Regions from separate parts of the Homo sapiens genome. Here region 1 is linked to region 2. The links are contacts of gene promoters, found by promoter capture Hi-C in human tissues and cell types (Jung and others, 2019). All regions are on one chromosome and are shown on one strand. Each heading gives the region's core, a stretch centred on a gene start or on the middle of the fragment in contact. The rest is flanking DNA. Distances are from core to core; before and after follow the strand shown.

Region 1 (5,370 bases), core at 2,851-5,350, 64 kb before region 2:
CACTCTGCTTTTTTTAAGCTTTACCAACAGTTGTGCTTCATTTCTGAAATGTAGGTATCCCAGGGAAATACTGTCTGTGGTATCTGAATCCCCAAAATAGCACAACTATATCAATCTACCAATCTACAATGCCACTGCTGTACTCACAGAGGTATGAAGCAGAGATTCAAGAGTATGAATTTACTATACCTTCTTGAGTAGTCATGGCCAATTGTTTAAATTGAAATACATATTTTATTATATAGTAGAGTAAGACATATTGATTTTCTTAATTTATGAACATAGGTAACATTATCCACAAAGAATTTCACTGGAAGAAAGTAATGAGATAGTTAGGGGATAATTGTTATAAAACGTGGGGCAATCTGAGAGCACTGGAAAATTCTGTTTTAAATTATTCACTTTATTTTTATTTTCAGGCTAATGGCCAAACATTACCCAGTCTCTTTAGTAAATTAAAATACTTAATATACACAGAATACCAAAAAACAGAAAGCCCTTTAGTTGTGGCTGAAATTGAAATAAAATTTCAAGGTGAGTAGTAGAAAGAATTTTTTAAAAAGGCCTCTGCTTTCTTTTTGGAAAGACATCTTCATGATAACACCAGTTCATACAAAAAAGTGGTTGTGATTGTTATTTTTGGGGGTTGGTTAATTTTAGGTGTGATGGTTAATTTTAGGTTAGACTTCTGGCTTAAAGTATACCCACATAGCTGGTAAAGCATTATCTCTAGGTACGTCTTTCAGAAGAGATTGGCACTTGAATCATTGGACTGTAAGTCAGTAAGGACGATCCGCCCTCAGTATGGGCAGGCACCATCTAATCAGCTGAAAGCCTGGATAGAACAAAAAGGCAGAAGAAAGGCTAAGTCTCCCTCTCTCTTCTGGAGCTGAGACAAACTTCTTCTGCCCTTGGACATCAGAACTCCAGGTTCTTCAAGCTTTGGGCCCTGGGACTTCCCCCAGTGACACTCTCCCTGGAGTTCTCAGGCCTTAAAGCCACCTCAGCCTCCAACTGAGTTTCACCAACAACTTCCCTGGTTTTGAAAACTTGGGGCCTTAACTGAGCCACGCTGCTGACTTCCCTGGTTCTCCAGCTTGCAGATAGCATACTGTAGGACTTCTTGCCCTTTATAATCATGTGAGCCAGTTCTCCTAATAAATCCCCTCTCATATAGACAGGCAGGCATCCTATTGGTTCTGTTTCTCTGGAGAACTCTGACTAGTAGTGATACATCTGGAATTAAGGGAGAAACCCAAAATTCTCCCAGCTGCTTCCTCTGGTTTATCCCACCTCTTTTGCCTAAATATGGCACTCGCCTTCCTGACAAAAGTATGATGACAGTCCTAGTATAAAAAACCAAAAGGAAACAAATAATACTTGCTCTAATTTGGATGTTATCCCATGCAAATCTCATATTTAAATTTGATCCCCAATGTTGGAAGTAGGGCCTAGTGGGACGTGTCTGGGTCATGGGTGCAGCTCCCTCATGAATAGATTAATGACCTTCCTGGGGTGGGGGCGATTGAGTTCTTGCCCTATTAATTCCCATGAGAGCAGGCTGTTTATAAGAGTTTGGAACCTCCCCACCACCTTCTCCCTTGCCTCCTCTCTCACCATGTGATCTCTGCACACACCAGCTTTTTCTTGTCTTTCATCATGAGTGGAAGCTCCCTGAGGCCCTCACCAAAAGCAGATGCTGGTCCCATGCTTCTTGTACAGCTTGCAGAACTGACAGCCAAATAAACCTCTTTTTTAAATTATTCAGCCTCAGGTATTCCTTTATGGCAACATAAAAATGGACTAAGACAACAATACAAAAGTTTGGAATCAACTACATAACACCCTAAACTTTTGTGGGATACCCACTAGGCATGTAACTTCATCTAACAGGTCATCCTCCATATTTCCAGGAGGAAATGGCATTTGAAAGCGTAAGAAAAGCTCTGCCCTTTAAAAAAGAAAAAAAAAAAGAGAGAGAGAGAGAGAAATAAGGGGGCAGTAGAGAGAAAATATGCATGAAAGCATGAGGGGTATGGTATTATTAGAATATATTTTGAATTTCTATTTATGGAAAACAAGGCTGAAAGAAGAAAACTCCATGAGGCAGTGGCACTTAACTTCTGGGGGTCACGAAGTCCTTAGAAAATTTATTGGGAGCTTTTTTTCCTAAAAAATGCATATCCATATTTTATGTTGCAATTCCAGAAGGGTGAAGCATCTCCCAAGGCTATCTAAGAAACTGGACTTGGTGAAGGTCAGTGGGGGAGAAGTGAGCAAGTTATCATTTTTTATGTTTCTTAGTTTATATTTCCTCAAAATTATCATGTTGTATCTCCATTATCTAAGGTCAGTTTCCCTTAAAAGCAGAGCCTGAAACAGGGATTCAGGTGCAGGTGGGGCTGCTCTCAGGATAAGAAAGTAAAGGAGGTAAGACAAAAGAGGAAAAAAGACATACTAAAGGTGGCCTCTGGTGGATTCTCACTTCACCCTGAGATGCACCACAGTCAGGATAGCCTGGTAGCAGAAACCAGCCTCAACAACCTCAAGTTAGTCATCAGCTGCAGAATCCTAGTTCTGATGAGGGCAAATCTCTGGAGAAAGGGGCATCTATAAGCTATTAGAAGCCAACACTCATCACCTGGGGCATGGGTGCACCAGCCTGGTAAAAAGGAGCTGGGAGGGGGTACTAAAAGTACCTACTATACCATCTGAAAATAATTTACTTGATATTAAAATAAGACTTCTTTCAAATTGAAAGAATAAATATAGAAACAAATTGAACAGAATAAATTGAACAGAATAAATATAGAAACACATATAGCTGACCTTAAAAAAAAAGGCAATATAAACTATTGTGTATTAACTCCTCCTTCCATTCAAACACAGGTCAGTAAAACATGCTGCTTTACTGTGCTACCACACTACATAGGTACAAAATGACACTGCAGACACAGATTGTAAAACGGCTCTAAAATGGCTGTTTACCTCAATATATCAGTATGCTGATATATGTACGTATCTCATTAAATATCTATTATAGGTAAAATACTGAACAGGAAATACAAAGTAAACATAAATACATAAGGCTCAGTGAGTAATCTGAATGAGGTTAAAATTTCCATGGATATATGAAATAAATCTCTACCCTTTAAATGGAAAAATCTTATCAACTGGCTATTGGGCTGAATATATCACACTCAAAAACATCATTTGCCAAGTCACCTATTCAAAATTTTAATCTCTCTGAAGAGCATATTATTGTTTTTGATGTTAAAGTTCTATTAAAAAGTTCTATTAATATGTTAGTAATATACATTATGAATTATCTCATTCATAGTACTCCTTAATATACAGATGCTCAACTTACAATGGGGTTATGTCCCAAAAAAGCCATTAAAAATTGAAATGCAGAAATGCATTTAATACACCTAACCTACTGCATGTCACAGCTCAGCCTAGCCTCCCTTAAACATCCTCAGAACACTTACATTGGCCTACAGTTGGACAAAATAATCTAACACAAATGCTATTTTATAATAACATTTTGAATACACAGATGCACATTTTGTAGACATGGTGGGATGCGAAAACACAAAGCACAATATCCAAAAAATGCTGGGGACACAGTACAGTCAGTTGTTCAGCCTAATGATTGCATGGCTGACAGGGGAGCTGCAGCTCTCAGTTGCTGCCCCACGTCACAAGAGAGTGTCAAACTGCATATAGCTAGCCCAGGAAAAAGATCAAAATTCAAAGTACAGTCTCTACCGAATGCATGTTGCTTTCACCACTGTAAAGTCGAAAAATCGTTAAATCGAACCACTATATGTTGGGGACCACTCTCGGCTTGCCAGGGGAAACCGAGTTGCAACAGCAAAAAAAATAGTTTCCCTTTGGCCAATTACTTTCTAATTAAAATCTATATCTAAACAGAATCACTGTGCTGATCTGACTAGCACTAGGAACAGATTTCAGAAGTACAATACTTGGAAAGCTTTTTTTTTCATTCAATACGTGGGAACACAGCTATGTCATCCAAAAAGACTAGAATTAAAAAGACCAAATTAATGTGGTACCAGAAAGTAAGAGAAGGAAGGAAGGAAGGAAGGAAGGAAGGAAGGAAGGAAGGAAGGAAGGAAGGAAGGAAGGAAGGAAAGTCAAAAGGACATGAGCCAAACTGAAAGAGCTGTTAAGTGGCCAAAACTAGAACAATTTGAAAAATAAAATGATAGTATTAGATTATAACCTAAAAAGCAAAATAAATTGAGGAGATACTTTAAGACTGTGCAGATATCCTTTTTCTCCTTAATTATAGAGGGGAAATACTAACTTTACAAGGGAAGAAGCTGGCAGATGCCACCTTAACAAAGTTGTCCAGGCTAACACCACAAATAATAGGACATATTGATATTTCAAACCTCCAGCTATGATATAATGAGAAGGCTGATCACCTCTGTGGTATTTATCCCAAAATAGATCTCAATCTAATCACAAGGAAAAAAAAAGTCAGGCAAACCCAAATTGAGAGCACCCTACAAAATAACTAACCATAACTTTTCAAAAGTATCAAGCTCATAAAAGATAAGGAACTGTCATTGACTGGAAGAGACATGACAAATAAATGCAAGATGTGATCCTGGATTAGATCCTGGAAGAAAAAAAAGACATGGGTGGGAAAGCTGGCAAAATCTGAAGCAAGTCTGTAGTTTAGTTAGCAATATCGTCTCAGTATTCAATTCTTAGTTTTAATAATTGTACTAATGTTATATAAGATGTAAACATTAGAGGTAGTTTGGTGAAAGGTATACAAGAATTCTCTATACTATTTTTGCAATTCTTCTATAAGTCTAAAATTATTTCAAAATAAAGAGTTATTTTAAAAGACTAAATTGAAATATTTTAATAGAACTTTTTATAAATAACTTGGGGTAAAAAAAGAAAAACAGAACATCATTATTAAAAAAAAAAAGAAGTTTTTTTATATCCCCTAAATAAAAAGAAGAGGTTTGTAGAATATTCGGCTATAGTAAATACACACTGAATTGAGGGAGGAAAGGAGACTAAGGAAACCACAATCAAGACAAATCCAAGGGTCCTGAGAGGAAGGGTTAAGTAGGTCAGACACAGGTAACAGAATTCCATTCAAAACACAAACTTCTCCAACTGTTTACATTTCCTCCTATTTTCATTCCAAACCTGCTCTATGCACTGACCTTCTCACCCATTCTCCCAGAACCATTTTACAAAGACCTCTAGTACTCCTGTAATCTTAAACTATGGTCAAATTCTTGAGCCAGGCACTGTGCTAAACATTCATAAGCATTACTTAATTAATCCTCAGTAACTTGAGGTATGTCCTCTTTATTG
Region 2 (5,600 bases), core at 2,248-4,747:
ACTGACCTACATCCTAGAGATGGACACTTCTAGAAGCCACATGTCCTGCTCTGCCACCACTACCTGTGTGTTGCCAAGAGTAATGAGAAACAGGTATTACTGAAAGGCTTTCCACAATCTGTAGGACAACTGTTCTGTTCTACAAAGGATATAGGACTCAGGTCCAGGTATTGAGTGTGGCCTAGGGCAGGTTCCAAGTTTAATTCCTACGGAATTTTATCTGCCTTCACAAAGTCTCCACCCAGATACTTGCCCTGTCCTCTCAGCCTCCTCCATCTCTCTTCTATGCCCCAGTAGCTATCCCTACCATCTCAATGCTCACGGCTTAAGATATTTTCAAATGAGACCAAGTTGGTTAATTCACAAGCATCCCAAAGTCAATTGATTCGTAGCACAGCCAAAGTATCATACAATTACAATAGACTAATTTCTACTATTTATACTTATCTATGGGAAGAGATATCTAAGCTACAAACTCTTTTACCCAACTCACAAGTGACTTGAAGCCCGCAACTATACATTTGGTAGAAAACAAGAATTTGCCAACTTTAACAGGACTCAAAGTAAAACAAGATTTCAGCGGGTACCAGAGCTCCTGCTTTCTTACACTAAGATAGGAGGGAGTGACCAGTCTACCACTCCATTCTACTACTCGCTTGCTGCTTTGCAGAAGTGTGCAAAACACTGGCCACCTAAATTACTCCTATCCATCACATCACCAACCTATATTACTTGTTCCCATCAAAAACAGCTGCCCCAGGCTCAGATAATGACTGGGTGACCTGAAAAGATTTAGGATAACGTCACTTCATCCAATCAAGAAAAAGCCAAGAACTAACTTGACATCTGCAAGAACAGTGACTGACTTGACACCTACAAGTACAATTACTTTCTGAGGCATTGCTGGGAACTTTGATGGTCTCAAAGATCCCTCTCCATCCAAAAAACAAGAGTTACTGGTGTGCAATCAAGAGCAGTGAAAGGTAGGCAAACTGGGAAGAGCTGCTCAGGAAGCAGTCTTGAGACTGGGATACTGAACTTTAGTACAGGAACAGAGTAGAGCTGTGCCTGGAACTTCTGCCCATGTTAAGATTTCCAGTTCAACAGGAAGGTGGTCCAAAATCAGTAGCATGCCCAGGCTCCTTGGCAGACAAACTCAAACTATCTCCAAAGAAAAGCATCTCTGGAATCCTACAGGTGAAGATAAAGCAATGAGCTTACAAAGATAAATACACACAAGAAAGAGAGCAAGCCATCATGAATCTGAGTCAATGTAGACAGCCCAGGTTGCAAACAGCAGAACTGTCAAATAAAGAATAAGAACAATCAAGTAGGAAATGTCTAAAGAAATAAATGAATAAGAAACAAAGGACTATCAAGAATGCCCAGACAGATTTGAAAAATAAGCAAATGGAACTTATTAAAATAAAAAATAATTGCTAAAATCAAATATTCAGAAAAGTAGCAGATTAGACATAGCTGATAACAAAATTAATGAACTGGAAGATATAACTAAAGAAATTACCATATAAGCAAGAACCTAAATTAGTTTCAAAGTACCAAGAGTCCAAATTACTTCTAAATTAACTGGAAGTCATGATTCATACCAGACTCCCACCCAAAAACACAGTGTTTTAGATGTGTTTTTTACCTTTACAGCTTAAGAGTGTTATCTTTTAGATGTCATTTCATCTTTATGAGAATCCATTTAACAAATGGCATGCTGAGATGGTCAATGTGACATACATAAGAATGAAAAACAGCACAGAGACTGGAAACCAAATGATGAAATCCTTCAATGAAACTTAACATAAATACTAATTTAGATCCTGTTTTCATGACCTCCTTGCTGGGAATGAGTCACAGAAAATAACACCTCCTGTATTCTGGACCACAGAAGTTAAAACAAAATAAAATAAGATTATTAACCCAGAGAGTAGACTATAAAAGGAAGAAAAGTCATTGCCTTAGTGGATTCTTCTCACATTAGGCAAAAATCTTTCATTGGGAAGTTAACTCTGTCCTATTCATTCTTCAGATTTGTCAAGATAATGATCAAGTCCATACTTGATCCTTCTGCAAAATGTCACTATTCCTATGACCATTTTGATACTTAATTTGGCATAATTAATCTATGCTGTTCCTCATTTTCAATTAATCTATGCTGTTTCTCATTTTCAGTATTCTGATATATCTCATGTATCAGAATATGGGCTCTCAGTCTTATTCAACTATTATTTTTAACTAAATGTTATAGTTAGCAACTGGTTCACAAACCATTATTCCCTTAATTTGTGAATCATGACTTAAATTTCTCACAATTTTTACTTGCCCACATAAGGCAAATGCTGTACTCTCTCTCTCTCTCTCTCTCTCTCTCACACACACACACACACACACACACACACACACACAGTTTTTCCATATTCCTAAGGAAAATGGTGGAGTGGTCAATGTGAAATTTCAATTCTGTTGGACTCATCCCAAATCTATCAACCCTCTATGTGATTTATTTACACACACAAACCCCAAAATAATCATCACTGCCTATACTTTCACTAGTTGACACCAACGAAAAGACAAGGTGTTAATCATGACACTTTCCTTAAGTGTTAAACACAAGCAAACCAGAATAGCAAGTTTCAAATATTTAGAATTCTTTCCAAGCTAAGCAAAACATTCTTTAGCAGTGACCACACCACCCGCCAAGTTCTAAAACTAGCTGTTTCAACTTGGAAAATTATATCTACCTTAAAAGTTCTTATATGTAATTAAAAGTTCTTATTAAAATAATAAGCAGAAAAAAAACCTGTCACCTAAAAGTTCATTTTGATATATCTTATACCCTCTTACACTAGGGAGGAAGGGAGAACTTCGACTTAAAAAATGCAATGTCCACCTAGATGACGTCAATACATATACACGTTTGAACTGCTTTTCACATCAGCGTTAAGAAATTTGGGGGCAACACAAAGATCTGGGCATTTGTCACAGGATCCAACTACAACTAGACCCGGTCGTTGTCAATCTATGATCTTTGGCACCTCTGGATCTCTAGAATAAAACTTGGTCCCCAAGTTCTTGTGGGCCCACCCTCGGCAGTCAGCCCTACGGCGGGGCGGGAGCGGCCCCACCCTAGCTCCAGGCGATACTCACAAACTTGGGGCGCTTCTCCCCAGGCTCCTCGGGGCCACTGGGCGGCGGAGGGTGTTGGGGGCCCTTCCTGCGCGGCATCTTGCTTTCCCGGCAGCCGCGGAGAGAGGCTGAGGAAGGGTAGGGAGTCCCAGCGGCTGAGCCTTGGGCCGGGTGGTGCAGCCGCGGCTGGTGCCGTTCCATCTTTCCCCGCAGCTCCGGGGACCGGAAAGAAGGTGGCCACTCAGCAAGCCGCAAGCTGGAAGCTGAGGGATCGACAACAGGTTTTACTCCCGGGGTCCGCCACCCAAACAGTCAGCACAGCCTAGCCCAACCGCTGAAGTCGGGGCCGCAGCCAACACATCTGAAAACTCCCGCCACCCGTGTTGGCCCGGGACTGGCCAATCCCGCGCCGCCGGATCAATGACACGCTGAGGCACCGCCCCTTCCGGGCACTGCGAAACATGATTGGCCTTGCGGCCTGTCTATGCAGCCGCTCAACCCTTCCGGCGGTCCAGGCCGCTCACCTTAAGGACGCAGAGTGGCGTCAGATTTGGAGAAGCGCCGGGGACCGTGGAGGAAGTCATCGGCCTGGATTTCTTTGGATTTGCAGATAGGGTTCCAGCAGAACTGGAAGGTGGGCGAGACAGGCCCTGCGCCACCATTTGAGCAGCGCTGGGATATAAAACCATCTGCTAGCCCTCTCCTTGCACGTCTGGGGCTGGAAAAAGTAGTTCTGGGACTGGGTACGGTGCTGGAAGGGGTACTAGGCAGGATGAAACGACGGGGCCCACGACGCTCCAAAAGGAAGCCTTCTGGACATATTTCCTGCCTAAGTGCTCGCTCTGGGGTGGCAGAGGGGTCCACCCAAAATCAGACAGAGCTAGGCTAGGCTGAGCCCTTCAGGAGCTCACAGTCTCCTGTAGTTTCCAAACCCTAACACAATTAACCAAGGAATGTAAATGTCTATAGCAGTTGTTTTAGAAGTTCCTTGAGAACAAAAAGGGAAGTTATTAAATCTGAAGGAGTGGATCTGGAAAGGTAAAAGGAAAGCTGCATAGGTTTTCACTAGGCAGGAAACAGTGGCAGGGCATTCATTTAAAAGGCATTCCATTCCAGGCAGGAGCAAGGCCAAGAAAGCATAGAGGTGAAGAAACTTTAAGGTCACATAACAAAGGGCCTTGAACTGAAACCATGCAAAAGAGTTTGTTGTGTAAACCCAAGGTCAAGCTACAAGGCAAACACCGTTTTCTCAACACATCAATATACCCTCTTTAAAAATGAGCTTTTCCTTGGAACTATTCCTTTAAGATATCTGTCTTCTGATTATATGGAGGTGGTGTAGGCCAAGACTCGGAAACATGCAGTATTGATTTTGGTACAAGAAACAACTCTAGGTACTCTGAGGAGTTTGGCACAGAGGTTCAAAAAATGAGCCTTAGTTCTCAGTAAGTCTTCACACTACAGCTTTTCTTTTTTAATATTTGTTTTACTGTGCCAGACTCTACAGCTCTGTCCTCAAAGAGCACATAATCTTTAGGGAAACTTACAGGAGAACAGCAAGGTCAGGAGAACTACAAGTAGTTCCTTATATCTTGATGACAGACCCAGATACAGATTTTATTCCTGCCATTTACTAGCTATTTGATACCGGAGATGACGTTTAACTTTCTTTGCTGCTTCATCTACAAAAGGGGGGTAATTATACTAATACCTATGAAAGAGGGGCATTTTCAGGCCTAAATAACATAGCATATGTAAAGCCCTTAGAGTTTTGTCAATGCTCCTACAGGAATACTGTAGTTGAAGAAGTTGGGATTATTACTCAGGGAGGGAGAACATGCACTATGGGGAGCCATGAAGTGTCTTAGGTAAATGGTATTAGAAAGCACTTAAAGGATTTGGGCTTTGATTAGGTGATTTGGGAAAGACTCCGTGGAAAGAGGTGGGAAGGGTTGCTCAAGATTAAGTGCCTTCAGGAAGTGGAGACAGTTCAGTGATTATCTTATCTAGGAGGATGGCAGGCTAAAAGACAAGCCTAAAGCTGTAACTGACAAGCATTAGTCATCCATATCATGGAGAGAGGGGAATGTTTGATTTTGAAAGACAAAACAAATTAAAGATCTAATTGGCTTTTATTTGCAATTCCAGAATAGGCAAAACTTCATTCTCTAAAATAGAATCTGTTCCAATGAGCTAAGCAGAGGAGGTTGGCTTTATAGGCAGAAAAAAGCTAGAGAACAGAAATAAGGAATGAGAAGCAGATGAGTTGTTTCAAAGTTACTTTCCTTATAGGGTTAAAACAGGGGAACTTTCTTAGCATACCAGCTCAGATAAACTTGGCCCCTTCTGATTGGGTGCTATGAATTTCCTGCTTTTTGGAAAACTGGCTGGTTTCAGAGTTGCTTTTGATTATGTGGCAATACGCATGAGGGACCATTCTGCTTTGGTCTGGTCTGCCGGAGCCT

What was found. Contacts are between HindIII fragments. The study calls those that stand out against the background at their distance.
Region 1: a fragment that was not itself captured here is called in contact with the fragment with the promoter of DIAPH3 in region 2 in 2 of the 25 tissues and cell types used here (IMR-90 fibroblasts and adrenal gland).

What each region holds. Positions count from the first base shown.
Region 1 is chr13:60,095,817-60,101,186 of GRCh38, forward strand. All of the region lies in intron 3 of DIAPH3 (diaphanous related formin 3), which reads right to left. Among named protein-coding and RNA genes, the nearest start is that of DIAPH3-AS2, 46 kb to the right of the region's middle. The HindIII fragment of the contact is 3,265 bases long and covers 2,469-5,370 here.
Region 2 is chr13:60,160,431-60,166,030 of GRCh38, forward strand. It overlaps DIAPH3 (diaphanous related formin 3), which reads right to left and starts at 3,498. Exons shown (of 28, transcript NM_001042517.2): 1 at 3,157-3,498. The coding sequence starts at 3,336. LOC105370227 (a long non-coding RNA gene) reads left to right here and starts at 3,627. Exons shown (of 2, transcript XR_942001.2): 1 at 3,627-3,769. RefSeq lists enhancers at 3,887-3,936, 5,025-5,319. The HindIII fragment of the contact is 10,910 bases long and covers 1-5,600 here.